2 separate regions of the Homo sapiens genome follow, and region 1 is linked to region 2. The links are contacts of gene promoters, found by promoter capture Hi-C in human tissues and cell types (Jung and others, 2019). All regions are on one chromosome and are shown on one strand. The core of a region is centred on a gene start or on the middle of the fragment in contact, and the rest is flanking DNA. Distances in the headings are between cores, read along the strand shown.

Region 1 (6,790 bases), core at 4,122-6,621, 44 kb after region 2:
TTATCACCCTATACATAAGAGATTAAATTTAAATAAAATGTAAACATACAGTATATTATAGTGACAGGTCATTCTTACCACTTAGAAAGGCCAAGTTTATCCATTTCTTTTTTGAACAAGGGTTAATGTTTTTCTACAGCACAGATCATTTGACATAAAACTGTTACAATACATGCCCATTCTATTATAAAAGAAATTCTTCAGAGATCTTCAAAGCACAAAAAATACGTTCTTTTTTCAAAGACTGACAGAAGTGCTTAATAATCACTAAAATGCCAACCTCAGCAACTAAAAATTAGTGATTCGCTATCCTAAAATTCAAATAATAAATTAAAAAAGCTAGTTACAGGTGTTTTACGGATAACAGATGTGCTAAAACAAGAATTGTAGATAGTTTCATTATAAACTGTATTATTACTTGCAGTCATCGACATCTAGGCAAGATGTACAATGTGATACTTGACAAAATTCAGTCTGATCATCCAATAACTCACAAATGCAAGCTCACAAAACATTAATGAATTATGCAATTGCAAAGTGCTCTAATGCAACATTAACCACATGCAATCAACAATTTGGAACAGTATCCAAACAGACATTATACGTTAAACGTTTAGTTTTCAAGAAAGAAAGCAGCTTGAAGTTTACTGGTGCAAATTAATTTTGTCTTCAGATTTGGTGCCCCAAACAAAAAGGTTAGGTTTGATTATGAATTCTGATGGTGGTGGCAGCAGTTATGGGAGAAGCAGCAGAAACTTATGGGAGTTCTTCAAAATTAGCCTATACCAGACAGAGTGAGTGTATGTATGTAATATATACTTCTACACTTGTTATGTGTATATGTGTACACTTGTTATATGCCATATATGTATGTGTATACCCTTATACACATACATATAGTTCAAAGGTTCACAAAACAGAAGCCAAATAGGTTTGAAATTCAATTTACTTTTATGATTACTTTCTAAAAAGTATTTAAAAGCACTCAATTCTTTTCCATGTTCTCAAGACCTGAAGAGGTACTTTTTGAGTAAACATCAAAATATTTTTAGGCCAAGTAAACTGTCTGTTCTTTAAGTACTTATCTGTGAATTCATGAATATATATTTATAATGAAGAACTCCACATTTATCAAAGAAGCTTTTCTTCATGCATACTCTTTCATCCAGTTTTTGTTTCTAAGCCCCTCCAGTTACTCATCATAATCCCACTTACCAAATAATTAAGACAAATGAGGAGGTAGAAATATAGCACTAGATTGCTTTCACAGCATCAGACTTTAACATTTTATATAGCATGTTAGTGTAAATTCTATTCATTCTGAATTTTTCACTTGGTAATAATCTTTAAAACAAACAGATCAGGTTATCACTGTTACACTCATGCCGATTCGTCAAAATATCCATTCTAAATTGTTGCCTCTTAGAAAGTTTTTCTATAAGAAGGCATTTGTTAAAAAAAGAGAGAGGGAAAGAAAAAAAGAAGACCCACCCTAACAAAAAAAACAAAATTGATATTTTTGTGGCTTGCATTCTAATAAAGTGCCAGCCTCTACCTAACAATATAAGCACTGAAAATGGCAAAAATGATGTGCTATAGTCTCAATGCCAGTGCTAAATGCCACTGTTTTTTATAAAAGCAATACAGAAATAATTTTAGTACATGACAAAATAAAATGTAATAGAGTTAAAAAATAAAGTTATATTTTCACTTGATTACAAAGTACTGAATGATAAAGGCAATCAAAATGGAAAAGAAAGCAAACAGCACAAGGATGACGGCAGCACACTGCTCGTCACTCAGTGCCCGTCGGGTCCTTGTGCTTTCCACAGTGTCTCTGTTGGTGCTGGCTGGTGGTTCAGTCCTCTGAGAGATGAAGAGCACTGTGGTGCTGTAGGGACCTACGAGGTCCTGGTGTCCCAGAGAGTCTTGGCACTGGCGAATGGCACATACACGGAAGCGATATTCACAGTTCAGCTGAAGGCTGGAATACCGGAAGGAAGAGTCGGGACCCTTGTAAATCTGTTAATAAAATATTAGAAGGAAGAATTACGTGTGAAGGCTGGACAGAAAATGTGTTAAAACTGGCTAGTGTTAGAATTGTTTTTCATGTGAAAGCCAGTGAATGCCATTGATTTTATCTTTTAAATGACATGTTAAAAATACCTGTCCATTAAAGTACTTATCTGTTTGTTGCATAGGGGCAAGAGAAATTTCAAAAGCGAGGATCTACCCTTATACGGTTCACAGATGAATTAAGGAGTGCAGATGTGCCCCAGGGCAGCTAGAGAACAAGCAAAATCGGTCCTCAAGCATTTTCTTGCTTTTCTCAAATGTAAGAAGTCATTTTTCAATGCAATCATTCCATCAAAGAAGGGATAGTGTCTACTTTTGCTTCCCCCATTATGTCTTTGTATAACTGATAAATTTCCATATAATTTCAAACATATCTGTACAATGAAATGGAAAATGAATAAGGGGAGCTTTCTATAGGTGCCTATGGCAAATCACTGTATAAACCAGAGAGGGGAGATCACTTAGAATCAGAAAATAGGACCTCCTCTGCCATGCCTCACAAGGGAAATAAAAAGAATGAAATTCCACGGATTTTCAGAGGAATGTGCTAGTAATTAACCCATTTATGCCAGAGGTTGCAAATTTTTTTTTTGTGAAAAATCAGACCTTGGCAATAACCTTGATCAGTGAGATATAAATAACTACCACAAGCTTAGTGTTCCAATAATGGAACACTAGGCATAAATAAGAAGCTATATACTAGAACTGTTCACCCCTGGCATCCAAGGTCTGCTCTACCACTTCACACTCCAGATGTGATTTTAGACCAACTACCTTAGTATAACAGACATACTAGTAGTTAACATGTATGATAATTATGAGGATGAAATGAACTAATGCTTGTTAAAGCACTTAGCGCAGTGCTCAGCATGCAGTCACTGCTCAATCTGTAGGAGCTATCATTTCCAATAATGAGCAACCTCCCACCACTCATTCTGTAATTGAGAAAACCAAGGTTCATAGGGTTAAATGACTTGTCAGTTGAGTTTCTCCAGTTAGTTGGTGGGCTACAAGTCAGAAGAACCAACACATGGGGGCTTTCAAGTACTTTTAGCTGCCTCAATTGTACCTGTGATGTAAATCTAAATTTTTACATATTGCTTTGCTCTCAAAGTAAAGTAAGATCTCTGTCTCATTTTTCTGTCTCCAGAATCTAGCATATAGTAGGTACTTAATAAAAGGACATTAAATTAGTGAATTATTGGCAATAAATAAAAATGTGGATGCTGATAACAATATATAAAGGAACTTACTGAAAGAAGCTTTAAGATAAATCTGAAAGAAAATGGTGACTATACATTAGTTCTAAGGATGCATAATGTTTCAGGGAATAGAATGTAGAAATGATCCATGTTTGGGAGATGGTACAGGTTGGGTATCCCTTATAAGAAATGCTTGGAACCAGAAGCATTTCAATTTTTTTGATTTTGGAATAGTTGCATATTTACTAGTTGAGCATTCCAAACCCAAAAATCTGAAATTGGAAATGCTCCAATGAGCATTTCCTTTGAGTGTCATATCGATCCTCAAAAAGTTTCAGATTTTGGGTGGAACATTTTGAATTTTGGACTTTATTTGGGATGCTTCAACCTGTAAAAGGATTCACTTAAAACAGAATGTTGTATGATAAAGTAGTGTAAAATTGTATACATAACACTGAAGTAAATTGAGTAAAAATTAAAAATATGTATTTGTCTTATGGATATAATAGATGATTTTTGTCTTTATACTTTCCATGTGTCTTCATATACCATTCCATGAGCCTGGCAGTATTAGGTTAAGAAAGAAAAACCTCAACAAATGGCATGAGGGTGATAAGAGATCTGGTACAAAGAGGAAGAATACATTAATTACACTAGTTGGAAATTTAGGTTAATTCAAAAGGGACCACTGTAGGTGTGTGACATTAAAACAGTGTTTATGGAATCCTAATCGTGAGGCTGTGTGAAGGACTGAAGGGAGCTGAGTAGGACAGGGACTCTTGATGTACATGTAAAAAGTGATGAGGCCCTGATGTAGTTTTATGGATTTAGAAACAAATTCTGATTAAGAGTTGATAGGAAAAAAAAATTCATCTAAGAATTTAAAGCTTGGAGACCAAGATGATATTGGTGTCTATGACACTGATGAAGTAAAGATGTTGGAGAGGAGATACTGGGAGGGAAGATGATGGGATCAAGTTTTCAATTTTGTATTTCAGATGTGGGAAGACCTCTAAGCAGGAAGAGACACAGGTAACTGTAAATACAGGACTGAAGAAAACAGATTAACCTGCTCAAGCTAATTTCAGAAGGTTTATACACCCAAGAAAAGTCATTCAAACAAGCCTTAAGGTTATTCATATACTACTCAAATGTGGAATCCCTATTTCCTTTAAACGTGTAATACAATTATATTTTCTTTAATATTAATTTTGCTTCCTCCTTAGAAGGAAACCTACTTATCTGTAAATTACATTTCAAATCTAATTATCCTGTCAATTTGCAGATGGCTTAATAAAGAAAAACAATTGCATGCCAGATTTAATCTGACTCTTTGGATCTTTTGTAATTTCAGTTAAGATATTACATAGAGTGGTTACAATAGCACAATACTGGAATAAAACAAATGAAGGATCTTTTTTTTAGTGGAAGAGGAAAATATAAGACACAATGAAAACAACCCAGCTTAAAAGCCCTCAAAATTAAGGTTACAGGAAAAAGGGAAAATCAGGTGAAATGTATAGGTATTTAATTAGTCTTTGGAGTGGTATAAAAGCTTATTCTTTTTAAAAGTTGTAACAAACATTGGCAACACTCCACTCTATCTCACTGCTATTCTTGCTTTATCAGAAAGCTATCTTTGAAACCTCTTGGCTAGGAAGGTGACAATTCCTCTAGGTTTCCATTATAACTTCATGCCTAATGTCATATTTACAGCACTGCATTATGACTATTATTAATACTATTATTGTAAAAGCCTCCTTATTAGTCTTTCTAGTTCTGCCCTTGTCCTACTGTAGTTTCAACACTATAGTCAAAACAACGTTGTGTCTGATCACGTGAATACCCTGGTCAAAATCCTCCACTGTCTTCTCATTTCACGTGGAGTAAAAGCCACAGTATGGCCTATTATGCCTTACGTCACTCCATACCACCTATAGGCCCCTTAGGATTAACTATCCGACCTTATCAACTCTTCCCTTTGCTCTCTCCATCCAGTCATATTGGCTCCTTTATGTTCATCAGATTTAATAGGCATGTTCCTGCCTCAGCGTATCTTCTTGGAACACTCTTCTCTCCATAGTCATCTCCTCTGGGCCATGCTGAAATGTCAGCTGAGTGCCCCAAATGAAATAACACTCAGTGCCCTCCCCCTCCACTCCCTATTTCTTTTATCCAATTTTGTTTTTTCTCCATTACACTTATATCTGACAATATATTGTCATGTTTACTTGCTTATAGTGTCTTCTTTTCCACCAGAATGTAAGTAAGCTCCATGGAGGCAAGGGACTTTTTGTTCAGTGCTATATCCTGAGTGCCTGGCACAGAATTCAATGAATACTTATCAGATAAATGAATAATCTGTTCAAGTGTAGTTCATACTGAAAAGATTTGGAATCTTGAGATCTCTGGAACATAATATATACTGAATAAATATTTATGAATTAAAAGGTAAAGATGGCCAAATCTTACACTGAAAATACATAAAAATTAAAAAAGGGTAAAAATATGCATCCACACATTAATATCTTGGTACATACCTGTTTGAATTCTGAATCTTTTCCCAACATAACTTGAAGACTGTAAATAACTGGATCACCTTTCATTGGCTGTAAACACTCCCATGTAATTTCACAAATGTGATCATTTACTTTCTCTATTTTGGGGGCTGTAGGAAACAAATATAAATAATATCTGTTCCACTTGATTTTTAATTTGGTACATCATGCAGACACTTGTCTTAATAAAAATCAACAAATATTTAAAATCCACTTATAAACTTGAAATAAGTATCAGTGAATTTTTGAAATTTGCATCCAAAGAGGTTAAAATCAGCACTCTTGTATTCTAAGATATGGGATCTCACTCTGTCACCCAGCCTGGACAACAGTGGTGCGATCATAGCTCAATGCAGCCTCAGCCTCCTGTGCAGCTACACACACAGGCATATGCTGCCATGCCCAGCTGATTCAAAATTTCTTTTGTAGAGAGGCAGGTCTCAGTATGTTGCCCACGTTGGTCTCAATACTCCTGGCCTTAAGTGAGCCTCCCACTTCAGTCTCCCAAAGCACTGGGCTTATAGGTGTGAGCCACTGTGCCCTGCTTATAGTCAGCACTCTTCTTAAAGCTAAGAGACACTAAACTTGATGAGCAAACAGAAAAATGACTCAGTGAAACTCAATATTATTAGAAAGACTAGTCAAGAAGAGTTCTGCTGTTTAACAAATGATAGGTTTAAGTACATGATCTAGGATATGGTTCTAGAAGTCTCTGTGATTAGTCTTCAGAGCAATTAACTTTATAGACTTTTCAGCTAAAAATAGAGTGTAGCCCTTGCCAGAGTCACTTTAAAATAAGAACCCCTCTAAAATTAAAAGATAAATGTATATACAAATGTGTGTAAATATGTGTACATGTGTGTGTAAAACTAATTGAAAAACCCACATTAATGAAGAATTTGTTTTGCTTAACAGATGACCAAGCTTTCCTTCTGAAATCCAAATGAATGTAAT
Region 2 (7,346 bases), core at 4,444-6,943:
TCATTTCTCATAAAAGCCTCATGTAGTATATACTAGTAACATTTCATTTTACAGATGAGGAAGCTGACACAGAGAGGTAGAGTTACCCAAAGTTATACAACTAGTAAGAGGCGGAGCCAGAGTCTGAACCCAGGCAGGCTGGCTGTAAAACCACTGGCTACTCTAAATTACTAGACTAAGGTGCTGCTCCAATGTTTATACTAGCATTACAGCATAAGTATTTTCTTATGTTAAGTGAAAAGGGTAGGATCCAGAGTTAAATGATCTCATGTAAGTAAAGAAAGTAAGAGAAAAAAGACTGAGAAACAATTTTTAAAAAGTAATTAGTCTCTAGGAGGTGGAATTATGATAAAATTTTTCTTCTGTCCATTTTAAAAATAACAAACATATATTACTTTGGTAACTCATAAAAATACTTTTAGTAAGACAAATGTTGGTAAAGTATCAAAAGCAGTATTTCCAATACAATTACATGTCTAATTGCATCTTGGTATTTCTGTGATTTACTCTGTACAACAAAAGCAGACTAAAGAATTTAAGTGAAACAATCTTATTACTTTAGCTTAAAGAAGACTTTTTTTCTCTTAATTGGAAAAAGTTTGTACTCAACTCTAAGAATACCATGTGCAAATAATACTGGAAAAAATATACTATAGTAAATGGTAAAGAAATATTAGGCACAAAATTGGGCAACATTTTGAGAAATTTAATATTTCCACAAGTATAAACACAATGGCAGCATATACTACATGCATATGAAATTTAGATGTATTCTTACTGTATAATTTAAAATTAATAACTTATCAACCCTGTAACAGTACCAAAACTGTCAAATACAAAATTGTGTTCCTGCTATGACTGCAACTACCTGCAAAATTATGTGGATATTAACTAGTACAAAAAGGAAATCCAAGAGAAAAAAATAGTTTTTAAAAATGTTGCAGCTATAAATTCAGTTTCAATGATAATGTTTGTACAATAAATAACACTATAAAAGTGGAGTACAATATGCTCCCTTTCATTCTGTATTCTTCCCCCACACTATCATTGGTCTTGCTTTTTTGCAATGGCCATGATATCAGAAGAACTAATGAAATTATATACTTCTGCTTTATTGACATTAAATATACAAGTAATTGACAACCTACAATCATGTTCTAAATACTTGGTAAATCTCCCTTTTCGGAATTTAAAACACATTTTTCTCATATAAACAATGTTAAAAATGATAGTCAAGTTCCCAAGTTAACATGCAAAAGCCTCTTTCACCCAGATCACTGCCAGAGTAATCCTGAGGCTCTCCCTCCCCAAGTGCCTTGGAGTCCCAAGCCCTGTAGGTAAGAACAGAAGTAAAGGCCTACCCAAGACCATGGTGAGAGGGTTGTAGTCCTAGGACACATGGGTATGGGAGCACAGCTGGAAAGACACCAATGCAGTGAATAGGAGCTGGGCATGCTCCAGGACCAGGAGCTAAGAGTGATAACCTTTCATATAGCCAAGTCAATCCTAGTTCCAGGTTGCCTGGCTTTCTGAAGACATGGATGTTCTTTGTTTTGATGCCTTCTGTACTCATTTCTATGTGTTATAACTTTCCATTTAAAAGCCTTAAATAGACATGCGTATGAGTCAGATTTCTAAATAAGATCCCAAATAAAATATCTGAAACAAAAGACTTATTTATTTTCATTTAGAAAACTTCCATGGTGCCCACCAGATGAAGGAATGAGATGCCAGGAAAACTTAAGAGTTGTTGGCTTGGGAGAAAATGAGAGTCATAACCTTGATCTTTTGTTAAACATGATATAAAGTTGTATAAAATTTTGTTGCTAATATAGTTTTGAAATTTCCTTGGTAGTATTTTTTTTAACAAAATGCTAACTGAAAGCTTCATCTCAGTTTTCTCAGATCCACAGCTTTCTCTATATAGTATGAGGAAACAGTAGGGTGTGTATTATTTGCAAATAAACTTCAACAATTAGTTGGCCAATCAATTCCTTCCTAATAGAAACATAAATGTCATTTCTCACTAATTAAATACAACTTGTGCCTGTTGAAAAAAAAAACTTAATTTCAGCACAGGATGTGGTGTGTATATAAAAAAACAGAACTAAAACGAGATCACATCTGGATATTTACAAAAAAAAGAACGCCTTTTCAAAATTTGTATTCAATCTCTAATATGTCCAGTTTTTATACGTTTTTTTTTCTTTTTTTTTTCTTTTTTTTTCTGTCGCCAGGCTGGAGTGCAGTGGCGTGATCTCAGCTCAATGCAATCTCTGCCTCCTGGGTTCAAGTGTTTCTCCTGCCTCAGCCTCCTAAGTAGCTGGGACTACAGGCACGCACCACCACGCCCAGCTACTTTTTGTATTTTTGGCAGAGACGGGGTTTCACCATGTTGGCCAAGATGGTCTCGATCTCTTGACCTTGTGATCTGCCTGCCTCGGCCTCCCAAAGTGCTGGGATTACAGGCATGAGCCACTGCACCCGGCCTAAAAGTCTTAAACCTCTAAATATTTGTTTCTAATCTGGCTCTTCAAAATAAATTTTATCTGAAAACAAAACAAAACAAAACAAAAAAAACACAACACTACATAAAATCCCTAACAGCTTGGAAATCTACTTTCATAAAATAATACTAAACTATTAACAAGTAGAAGGAATAAAGGAATTTCAAAATTAATGAAGGAAATGAAGAGCTTTCTCAGCCGTTAATAACATGTAGAGCCAGAGTGGGGGGATGAGGGTGAGAAATATGGAATAACGATGTATAATATTTTAAATAATGTTTTACTATCTATAAAACACTTCACATAGGAATTGGGGGAGGAAACTACACCAAGAGATATCATTTTATTATGAGAAGCGAATATCCTCACATCCTGTTAAAATTCCTCAATGCAATTCCTATATTGATAAGATAAAATCTAAACTCCTTTGCAAGGCATACAATGCTTTTTATGATATGATTCCTGTCTACATTGTCAAGCTCCTTTCCAGTCTCTTCCCTCTACCTAACTTCACTTTCTGGCCTGAGGACCACAAATTCTCTCATTGCTCCAAGCTTTTCCATGTAGAGTTCCTTGGCTTGGGCAAAAGTCCACTAATCCTTCATGTCTCAGTGCAAATACGACCTTCTCTGTGAATCCTTCCTTCACTTCCCCATATAGAGCCTGGCTCCCAGTCTTGCCAACATCTCTGCTTATACTATGTACTCACTCCACCAATTCTGTTTTAATTGTTTAAATGCCTAGTGTTTCTACTCATTAGAAAATAAAGACCATGTTTTTTCTGCTTTGTGTCTCCAGTGCCAAGCACAAAACCTCATCCACAGTAAAATGAAAAGAGTAGGTGGTCTCCTAAGAGTACTGTGGGAATTTAAGGATTTATAGTCTTTCTCTGGAAAATCTAAAGCAACCTTTCAGCAGAATTATGGGCAAGTTGGAAACCTCAGCGAGTACATGCAGAATATAACTACAACTTTGTAAGAGTAAAAATAAAAAACCTCATGCTTAAGATTGGAAGCACCAAAATATTAACAGTAATGTTGTTAGAGTGGTGAGAAGCCATGTGTAATTTTCTGCCCCACCCCCCTCATTTTACCTCTGTTTTAAAAAAAGTCTTAAATGCTCAACTTAACCTAATACTATTTTCCAATGGCCGTGGCCCCCTATAAAAATTAATGCCAACACCCTAAGCTTCCAAAATTATCAAACAGAAATGATGAGAACCTAGCATCATGCCATTCCAAGCATGGAGGAAAATGAGAACCTAGCCCCTTGTTGCCCCAAGGGTAGGAGAAAGAAAAGACGCAGGATGTTTATACTTCCAATTCCAATATATTGGCTTTTATGATTATTCTTACTATACATTTCTGATTTTTTTTTTGAGATGGAGTCTTGCTCTGTCACCCAGGCTGGAGTGCAGTGGTGCAATCTCAGCTCACTGTAACCTCCAACGATTCGTTCAAGCGATTCTCATGCCTCAGCCTCCCGCGTAACTGGGACTACAGGCGGATACCACCACTCCTGGCTAATTTTTGTATGTTTAATAGAGATGGGGTTTCACTATGTTGCCCAGGCTGGTTTTGAACTCCTGACCTCAGGTGATCCACCCACCTCAGCCTCACAAAGTGCTAGGATTACAGGCGTGAGCCACTGCACACAGCCCATTTCTAATCTGTTTTGATCCTGTCTTTCAAGATCCAAAAAGAGACTACTTCCATCCAACATTAATCAATTAGCACTCATATAATGCTAGACTCTAAAGGGTATATGCTAGGTAAAATAAGACATGGTCTCTATCTCCAGGCAATTTATATATTTCTGTGGCAGAGGAGTAAACTACCTAGATAAAACACCAACAGTATATATAATTGGGGGAAATTATGTGGTATAGACAATAATCTTATTAGCCGAACTGACATATGAATACCATTAGTACCCGATAAACATGGTATTCTCAGAAAGTATTTTTAGAATGGAAGATGACTTATTACGGCTGGGAATTATAAAGTGTCATGTTAATCAATAAAGATATTTTTTAAATCTTAAGCCTTGTTAAGTTTGGTTTTAGGTATGACAGAAACTGGAGCAATAAACTCAGATTTTAAACCACTGCTTTTCTAAGGGGAAAAACTATGAAACAAATTATACCTGAGATTTTTGCCGCTGGGCTTCTGCTGGAAAGAGCTCCATCCAGAGGCTGAGCAGAGTGAAAAGGTTGACTTTAGAAAGCCTTGGTATCTGACCTACAAAAGAGACGACAAACACTTTAAACTTTGTTACTAATGGTGAAAAAGGGAGCCAATCTCAATGCCACTTAGGTGCTGCAGCCTAAGCCCAGCTGCTTTCGCAAGAGGCACAGAAAAAGATAGGGGACAAGAGAGTCAGAGGTATCTTAGCAGTAGACGCTTCAGCCTTAGTCGTGGCTACCTCCTTCTCCACTTAAAAAGTTGAGCCTTCTTTCTCCAGCCCTCACCCTGCAGGAAAAAACGGTACAGCTAATACACATAGCTGAGGGGGACAACCCAAAGCAAGCTGTGAAAAGTCTTCGCATCTGACGTCGTCGTGGTGCAAGCTTTTCTTTGGACTGTGATGGGGCGTTGCTAAAAGGAAAGCGATTAGAACACAACCCGAAAAATGCGCTGACCTTCGACGGTAAAGCAGTCGAAATACAGGAAAGCGTCACGTGCGGTTAATTTGGAAATCAAGGCAAAAGCGCCGTTTGGAAATGTTCAGGCTCTTTGACCTCAGAGGCCCCAGCTCTAGGTCCTGTGAGAAGTAGCTAACAGGGGTAAAAAGCGAGACTTCAAAAGCCAGTGCGACCGAGCCGATTGGTCCTGGCGACCGCGGAGGGGACACGCAGAGGGCGGGCAGGAGACATCCAAAAGCAGCAGGGGAGGCAAAGAGGCTCAGACAAGGAATCTGGAGTTCAATGACGGGAGACGCACAGGGCAGAGCGAAAGGTAGGGTGGCGGGAGCAGGGTCCCGGACACTCACCGGTCATGCTGCCAGTCTGGGTGCTGACTGACCGCCCGGCCCTCGCGCTCTCCAGATTTTGCATCTGCCCAGCTTCTTTCATCCCAAACCTAGCGTCCTCTGCTGCCAAGGAAACCTCTCCCAGTCAGACATGATCTCGGCCCTAGCGCCCCCGCCTCTCGCCTCCTCTCAGCAACTGTAAGGCAACGGCCCACTAGGCGCAGCCAGATGACGCCTCAAGCTTGACCGCCACTTCAGGGCTCCTCGTGTGACGTCATAGAGAGGCGGGGCTTTGGCGCCAGAGGGCTGCCCCTCGGCCGGTGACCGAGTTAAGCACCGAGCTGTAAATCGCTTGAGACCTGTATTTGGTTGTTTTGTTGGTTTTGCCAAGTAAGGTCACTTGAGGATTTCTTGGCTCGAGGTCCCAGGTTGCGCAGACTCTGACTGCATCGAGTTGAGAATTTTGGTCAGAATGTTAAAGTGGAAACCTACCCCAGGCTGTCATGGTCAGTGTTTTAGAGAACTTCTTGGGTTGGGGTGTGGAGCTGGGCGGTCCAGGATGTTCTGTCATCAGAGACTGGCGGGTTCTGGGGAACTTGGTGCCATGGAACACAGTAGGGACGTTCTGCTTCTCATCAAGAACATGAAGACATTAAGAGGTGGAATTGTAATGGGGAAAAAGGTGAGAGGAGGCAGTAGGAGTTATTTTGTTTTTAATTTCTAATGTCTAGTTTATTTCCACAAAACATCTGTATCATACCAGTTCTTTGAAATTTGTTCAGACTTGTTTTATGACCTAGATCAGCACTGTCCAGTAGGATTTCCTGTAGTATTCTATATCTGCACTGTCCAATATGGTAGCCACCAGCCACATGTGGCTATTGAGCATCTGAAATGTGGCCAGTACAACCAAGGAACTGCATTTTTAACTTCATTTAGTTTTAATTAATTTACATTTTAAGTAGTGACATGTGGCTATTGGCTACTACTGTATTGGACAACATTACTCTAGACTCTCCTCCTGGAATTCCTATTAGGCATAGGTTAAACCTTCTGAGGTTCTAAATTATTATTTTTAAAATATTGCATCATTTTGTTTCTCTGAGCCACATTCTGGCTAATTTCTTCAGATCTATCTTTCAGCTTGCTATTTATTTCTTTGGCTTGTAGAATTTTTTCTAGTTCGCCTGTTCTGAGGGTAAAGCTCTTCAGGTGATTTGACTATATCCAGAGAACTCCATTCTGCACCTTTCCTGAAGTGTAGACTTTGTTGACAGTGCCTTCATGGCAATTAACACTAAGGTTTAAAGACAGGCCATGGACTAGGAGAAAATATTTGCAAAGCATGTATCCAACAAAGGACTCATATCCAGAATATATAAAGAACCATATAAACTCAGAGTAAGTAAACAGTCCAGTTAGAAAATGGATCAAAGACTTGAATAGTCATTTCACCAAAGAAGATATACAGATGGCAAATAAACATGTAAAACAGTGTTCAGTGTCATTGGCCATTAGGGAAATGTATATTAAAACCACAATGAGATTCTACTACACACCTATTTAAATGGCTAAAATAACAAGTACTGACAGCACTAAATGCTAGTGAGGATGCAGAGCAACCGGATCTCTCAAACATTGCTGGTAGGACTATAAAATGGCATAACCACTCTAGAAAACAGTTTGACAGTTTCTTATAAAGTTGCACATATGCTTATCATATCACCCAGCAATCACACTCCTGGGTATTTATCCTAGACAAACCAAAACTTATGTTCAAACAAAACTCTGTACATGAATGTCATGGTGGCTTTATTTTTAATAGTCAAAAACTGAAAACAGGCCAGGCATGGTGGCTCACACCTGTAA

Evidence for each region. The method cuts DNA at HindIII sites, captures the fragments that hold promoters and counts their contacts. A contact is called where the count stands out against the background at its distance.
Region 1: a contact is called between a fragment that was not itself captured here and the fragment with the promoter of CDADC1 in region 2, in 2 of the 25 tissues and cell types used here (mesenchymal stem cells and spleen).

The regions. Positions count from the first base shown.
Region 1 is chr13:49,202,313-49,209,102 of GRCh38, reverse strand. It overlaps FNDC3A (fibronectin type III domain containing 3A), which reads right to left. Exons shown (of 26, transcript NM_001079673.2): 25 at 5,819-5,946; 26 at 1-2,022. The coding sequence ends at 1,708. Among named protein-coding and RNA genes, the nearest start is that of MLNR, 15 kb to the left of the region's middle. The HindIII fragment of the contact is 3,237 bases long and covers 3,753-6,790 here.
Region 2 is chr13:49,246,272-49,253,617 of GRCh38, reverse strand. CDADC1 (cytidine and dCMP deaminase domain containing 1) reads right to left here and starts at 5,693. Exons shown (of 10, transcript NM_030911.4): 1 at 5,499-5,693; 2 at 4,653-4,747. The coding sequence starts at 5,580. LOC105370203 (a long non-coding RNA gene) reads left to right here and starts at 5,778. Exons shown (of 2, transcript NR_135318.1): 1 at 5,778-5,983. RefSeq lists enhancers at 5,571-5,800, 5,270-5,832. The HindIII fragment of the contact is 6,098 bases long and covers 4,387-7,346 here.